Linked DNA regions of Homo sapiens: region 1 is linked to region 2. The links are contacts of gene promoters, found by promoter capture Hi-C in blood cells and fetal thymus (Javierre and others, 2016). All regions are on one chromosome and are shown on one strand. The core of a region is centred on a gene start or on the middle of the fragment in contact, and the rest is flanking DNA. Distances in the headings are between cores, read along the strand shown.

Evidence for each region. The method cuts DNA at HindIII sites, captures the fragments that hold promoters and counts their contacts. A CHiCAGO score of 5 or more calls a contact.
Region 1: the fragment with the promoter of AP1S2 here is called in contact with the fragment with the promoter of TRAPPC2 in region 2 in 1 of 17 cell types (non-activated CD4 T cells); the score reaches 5.5 in non-activated CD4 T cells.

The regions. Positions count from the first base shown.
Region 1 is chrX:15,852,784-15,856,311 of GRCh38, reverse strand. AP1S2 (adaptor related protein complex 1 subunit sigma 2) reads left to right here and starts at 1,499. Exons shown (of 6, transcript NM_001272071.2): 1 at 1,499-1,624. RefSeq lists silencers at 1,083-1,192, 1,283-1,562, 1,783-2,072 and an enhancer at 861-1,465. The HindIII fragment of the contact is 8,276 bases long and covers 1-2,902 here.
Region 2 is chrX:13,732,929-13,736,093 of GRCh38, reverse strand. It overlaps TRAPPC2 (trafficking protein particle complex subunit 2), which reads left to right and starts at 1,474. Exons shown (of 6, transcript NM_001011658.4): 1 at 1,474-1,569; 2 at 1,909-2,050. It overlaps OFD1 (OFD1 centriole and centriolar satellite protein), which reads right to left and starts at 1,346. Exons shown (of 23, transcript NM_003611.3): 1 at 1,011-1,346; 2 at 748-846. The coding sequence starts at 1,022. RefSeq lists enhancers at 433-1,004, 773-1,972. The HindIII fragment of the contact is 7,868 bases long and covers 1-3,165 here.

The DNA.
Region 1 (3,528 bases), core at 250-2,749, 2.1 Mb before region 2:
TTTTTGTTTTGTCATACAAAAGCATTTTTTAAAAGCCCCCAAAACTACTGTCTTAGTTTCATAGATACTATAATGTACACAAAAAGAATATAATCCCTAATAAAGGATTCCTTTACATTGATTACATTTAGCTTCGTGAAAATTTTAGCATTTCTTTTTTTACTTTAGGCCATTAAAAAAATTCTGGCGACTATACTTAGGAACCTCTGCAAAAGGGGCATGGCCCAACAAAAGCAATTTTCTCGCTTCCTTTGTAAGAACCTAGGTGACTCGGGTAATGAATAGCATTTCGATATGGGAAACCCGTGGCTCTTCAAGGAAGGTCACCTAATCCCGTGGGACTCCCCTTTCCTTATCTGTAAATGACTAGATGATTCATCCATTCTATCATTCAGAAAATTATGAACATCCATTATGCCCAGGCATTACGCTCAGCATTACAGCTCTTAACAAATTTATCATTTTATAGTCTTTATCAGTCAACTCACATTTATTAGTTGTTATATACCAGGCTGTGAACTAGATTGAGATGCAAAATGAATACAATTTAAGGTGTGCTAAATAAAGGCTAACGGGCATGTGGGTGAAAGAGGGAATCGCTCTTACAGGGTTTTAGGGTGAGGCTTCATAGATGTGACATTTGGGAGCAAGGACATGCCAGGCACAGCAAGTCGTCGGCAGTGCTAAACTGGAACCCAGGCGGCTGGTGGGGCGACCCAGTGTGAAGGAAGCGGGATCTCGAAGGTGAGGTGCTGTCCGGGCTTTTCAGCCGAACGGACGGTAACTCATCCAGTCCGCAGCACCGAGGATGGGCGAGGCGAGCCCAGGGAACAGACTCCCGCGAAGCTCGGGGCGGAAGGTGTCTGGGCTAGGGCTGGAGCAGTGCAATGGGAAGGAGAGGGCGGATTCCGGACAATTTTGAGGCAGAATGATAGCAAAAGGCCCGTGAATGCGTGACGAGCTCCACAGAAGAGCTGACTTGTTTTTCCAGAGTTGCAGCACTCCCTCGTCTCCTCCCACCCTCCTCGTCAGCCGTCACACTTCACACTTCCTCTCTGGGGACACAGAGAATCATTAGAGCTCGAACGTGGCTCTTCGCTGTCCGGAACTTCCCTGCCCCGCACCACCCGCTAGGCTAAGGACGCTGCAGAATCCCGTCCTCCTATCATTAAACAAGCAGGACAGCCGCCCGCGCGCGTCCCGGAGGCACCTGCAAGAGCGCGCGGGCGCGCGGGCGCTCGGGCCCGGCAAACGCCGCTTCCGGGTCACGTGGCCCGGCTTCCGGTTCGCACCTCCCCTCAGCGAAGAAACCTCCAATCGGCTGCCTTGGACTCAGCGGTTACCCGCGCTGCCTCCGGTGCCGCTGGCGACCGCTGAGCCGCTTCCCGCGCGTCGCCTAGCCCGCCCCTCAGCTCGCCGCAGCCCCGGCTCCTCCCTCGTCCGGCCCCCGGGGCGGGGTCTGTCAGCTTGCCCTCCCCTCTCCGCCTAAGCCTGCCCTATGCCAGCCGGGTGTCCTCCCCACAGCACCACGGCTTCTCTTCCTCAGCACGGCGACAGGGGCTTCCCCTTCGCCGCCGCCGCCGCCGCCGGCCAAGCTCCGCCGCGCCCGCGGCCCGCGGCCGCCGTAAGTCCCTGGGGGCGAAAGGGGGCGCCGGGGATGGGGGAGAGGGGGAGGGAGGACTGGGCGCGCCCCCCGCCACCCCGCGCGCGCCCCGACGACCCCACCCCGAGCCTGCCCGGCCCGCCACTGGGTCGCCGCGCCCGCAACTCACTTCTCTCCGTGTCCGCGCCCTCCGCACCACTCCGCGCCGCGCCCGGGGATGTGGGGGCCAGTCCCGGGCTCCGCGACAGCCTCGCGGCACCTGTGGTTCGGGAATCGCCTCAAGTTTTGCGGGGCGCTTTCGGGAGGGGCCGGGGGCGGTGGCGGCCGAGGACTCTTGGCGCCCCCTGCGCGGCGGCGGATGCCATTGTCTGCTCCGCTCCTTGCCTGTCACCTCTCCCGGGCTTGGTCAGTGATGGAGTGTGGCCACGGGAGTGGGGGGGAGGCACCGGCGACGGCCGGACCCGAGGAACGCTGGCCCCGAGCCCGCGCCGCGGCTGAGCCCATTGTTTTTAATGCCAGTCTCGAGGAATTGTGGTGCCCTGTGATTTGCGGCAAAATCAAAGCGTTGGTTTTTAACACGAGGGAAGGAATACTCGTGCTTTGCAACCGGGTTTCGTCCCATGTTAGGACATAATTTATTTTAAGGAGAATACATTGTTTTTTCGTCCTGCAAAGTGGTAGGGCGGATACAGGACCCTGCTCCAGACAGCCTTGAGCCCATACTCTTCGCAGGCAAACCCTCACCCTTTCTGGTCACCAAGATCTAGGAATACGAGGTCCATTCTTTTCCAAGTTCTGGTAACGGGTTTGCAGTAAATGCCCAGTTGATGCTTCACTTCCTGCCCCCTTCGAATGCCGCTATCTTCAGGACTTGCACGGGAGGCACTTTGGTATCACCTAATAATGTCCTTATATTTTGTTCCCCTGACGCATTTTAAGTGAGGTAATAAGACCATTTTAACTTTACTAAAGTTGAATTGCCACGTCATACATTTCTAGATATCTTGTTGATACCTTTTTGGGTGGTTACAAAAAGCGACGATAATTTCTTACCGAAATTTAGGGCCCATTTTTATTCTACATTGGTTCTGTAAATTTCCCCTCCCCGTGTTCAAATTCAAGATGGTGTGGTGAATCTTGAGAATCATGCTTGAATCTTATTTGCAGTAACGCTGTTAAAGGAACTTAACAGTGATTAAAAGAAAAAAGGATACCTATGTGAATTCTGCCTTTAAATTACCTTTGTAGAAACAATACTTCTGTTTGCAGTTGAGATGACCAATTGGATTACAAAAAGCTTGGCGTTAAAAATGAAACATGCAGACTAATCAACACATTTGCAGATCACAAATAAATACATACAAATTAGTTTAAGTATAAAACACACTAGAATTCAGCATCCATTCCATCTGTAGATACTATTTTTTATTTTAAATGAAGTATTTCATGTAATGTTTCAATGCTGAATCTTATTTAATAAGTGTAAATCTTATTGTGGCCTTTTAAACGTTTGTTTTCTTTTTCATAATACATTAACTCAGTTCTAGATTTTGTACATATTTAAGTTGGAATGCTTTAAAAGTCAGATGAAAACATACTTTTTTATTAATGAAAATTTGTATTTATGGGATTTTTCAGTTAATATTTTGGATCATTCTGTTTTGCTTAAAATATGCCATCATAAACTGAGGAGAACATTCCAAGACATAAGCTACTGTCTGCAAGTAATTCACCCTGGAACTAGAACGGCCTCAGGATGAAAAATAGCAGGTCTTCTGTTTCTTTCAAAAGTACCCAAACCAGATGATGTCTACCATTCTCTTTTGATGCATATAGAGAGTGCGCAATGTATAGCACAGGTAGAAAATAGTTTCTTAAATTGAAAGAGTGATCTTTATTTTTCTTCAAAAATTTCACTTCAGCTT
Region 2 (3,165 bases), core at 225-2,724:
AACCAAAATATTCAACAACAGGGGACTGCTATATACATTACAAAAATATCCAAAGATAAGCCTGTTGCCACTGAAAATGAAGATTTCAAAAAACTTTTAAGGAAACAGGGAAATGCTCACCATATAATTTAAATTAAAAAAGGATACATACACAGGATATAGCTACATATTTTAAACGTAAAATATGCTTTTGAAATGCATATTTCAATGAAAACACGTTGAGCTAATCCTACTCCTGGCTGTTAATCCAAATATAAAGCATACTAATAGGTATTTTCTGCCCAAACTAAACATTCATACATTTCAATATAGTTTAAAGATAAAATTTTTCATTTCCCAAACTATTATTAAGCAGTACACTAGTATTTTCTATATGGTGTCAATGTCCTTCATCCAAATGTATTACAAACCCACTTATTAATTTAGGAACCTATAAGCCATATTTATAAAACAAGCCTAATCTTACTGTGTTCATTATACAAATATTTCCTTCTCCTATCTTATTGTCAGTTCAATTAATTATTTGAATATGCTCCTTTAAGACGACTCAAACTCAACATTTTCTCAAACATTTTCAAGAGACTGTAATGTTTCAGGATACAGAGTTATTCGGGAATATAAAAATGTAATTCACCAATACAATCTATGTATCATACGATTATTAAAACCTAAACCTTGATTGAATTTGAACTACCTGTTACAGGTTACACTTGTAAAAGCTGACACAGATACGCCTAAATCCGATACCTTGAGTGTATCCAGTATACCCCGATCCTTAAACGTCTGGTATAGCTTTTTGCGCAGTTCATCTTGACTCAACACATCAGCCACGGTAAACATGTTGGACTAAAAGACAAAATGGTTATAGGTTACCTGCGGGGCAGAGGGAACGTGAACGTCTGAAAACAGACCAGTGGCCTCCGGGGAAGCCATAAGAGGCCTAGCGGCGAAAGTTTAACGAACACAAAACAAGACTTTATTTCCGCCCGAGAAGGGGCAGGTGTGTCTACCTGCGCCATCATCAGGCGTCAGCTCCCTCCGGAGCCCGCCTCGCTCGCCCCGCCGCGGCCCGAGTTTAGTGCCCAGCCCGGGCGGTGGGGCCAAGACGAGGGGGAATCCCTGCCCTCAGAACCCTGCCTCTGTCCCGAGGGTTCGGGAGGAACAAAGGTGCTGAACGTTCTCTGCCTCGCACTCCCAACTAGGTTTTCTAGCAAACACGCGAGCTTCCTTTCTTCGCGGTTCTGAGGCAAGGGCGAGGACCCAGGCACGACTCAAAGGCGGCTGGAGGGCGGGGACCCAGACACTAGGGACTGAAGGCAGCGAGGCAGGACCGCCTCACAGCCAGTCCGGCAACTTCCGGAAACCTGCTAAATATAGCCTTCCCGAGCTGAAGAGCTACGGCGCATGAGCTTGGTTGCCCAGCACCGGCCGGAAGCTCCGCCTACGTATCGCGAGAGCACATCCCAGGGTATCGCGAGAACTGCTTCGGCGTTCTGGCTACAGGTTCGGGGCGCGGGTCTCTTCCGCGGAAACTGACATTGCGTTTCCGTTGTCGGCCTCCCACTGCAGGTAGGGAATGGAGCAAGTGCGGCGGGGGGCGGGTGTTTTGAGTCCCTGGAGGACTTCGTAGCCCCTGCGTGACGCGGATGTTGGTCCTGTACCTCCACCCCTCCCCGGGGTGGCCGGGCCGGACCTGCCAGCCCTCCGCTGGCTCATCCGCGCAGCCCTTCCACCTGCAGACGTCCGCCCTCTCGGGGGCTGTGGTTTCGCGGTTCACTGGGTCATTCAGCTAACCCAGGGTTTCTTAACGGCTGCACTGTTGCCTTTTGGAGCCGGAAGATTCTTTGTTTTGGGAGGCTGTCCTGTGCATTGTAGGTTTAGCTGTATCCTTGCTCTCTATTTTGTCAGTATCACCTTCTCCCCCAAGTGTGACAACCAAAGATGTCTCCAGATATTGCCAGATGTCCTCTTGGAAGCAAGATCGCTCCGGGTTGAGATCCACAGAGCTAAACGTTTTAGAGTACCAACCATTGTGTGCTGTGAGGTAAAGGTGAGCCAGTCCTCATGATGCTTAAATGTAATTAGAAAGGAAAGGAACCAAACCTCTCAGAAGCGATAATGAAAATGTTACAGCCAGAGAATTGAACAAGAACTAAGATACATTGTAGACTGGATAAAGAGTTTAAAGGGGAGGTGGTTGAAGATGGAAGTGATCCAGATCATCTCTGTGGAAAAAGTGTGTCTTTATCGGGGCCTTGATGGGTAGGATTCGGGTGGTGAGCAAAAAGGAGAACATCACAGGAAGGGGAAAAATGAGCAAAGGAATCATTAAAAGAAAAAAAAAAGCCACGACCTTCTTGGGAGCAGTGAGGAATCTAGCCTGACTCCAGAGTTGTGTGCTGGGAATATAAGCCTTATATGGTATCTAAGTCCTGTGAGGACAGAATTGGATGTCAGCTTTGTGTACAGCATTGAAGATGAGTACGATGAGTTTTGATCTCTGGCTGTGAAAAACTTAAAGTATTTAAGAGGCAGTAAGAGTGACAGGACTTCATAGGAGGTGGAGAACCTGTAAGTTTTTGTTGGAAACAATGGAAAAGGAGGAGAGGCTTAGTTGGATTTTAAAGGATGGGTAGTGGTTGCAGACAGAATAAAGGAGAACATTCCAGGCATGAAGAGAGAAATGATAGTAGCTCTGAACTCGATATAGTCAAAGTGAATTTGGGAGAAAAAATAAGTAAACGAGTCAACGCTAGCAGAGGTGGAACAATAGGGCTGAGAAAAGACACGTGGAGCAATGTGGGAATCTTGAATACTAGTACATGATCCTGTAGCTGAGATGCATCAAAGGCTTTTGAGTGGAATGATGAAAACAGTGTTCTAAAAAGATGTTGATATGTTGTAAATGTTGTTAAGTAGAATCACTTGTCCACTGTTTAAAAAAAAAAAATGTTCCTGAAGACCCCCTTACTCCCACCTCCACCTTTGGTCCCACAGTTGAATACATGAATATAATTAGATAAAATGTTCTCCAAAAACTAGCATAACTTCTAGGGGAGGGAGAATTGCTTATAATATTAATAGAAAAATGTCACATTAAAGACCTATCAGTAGTATTCCTACTGCCCCTCCTCATTGTAATAGACATGTCCCATGCCATACCAG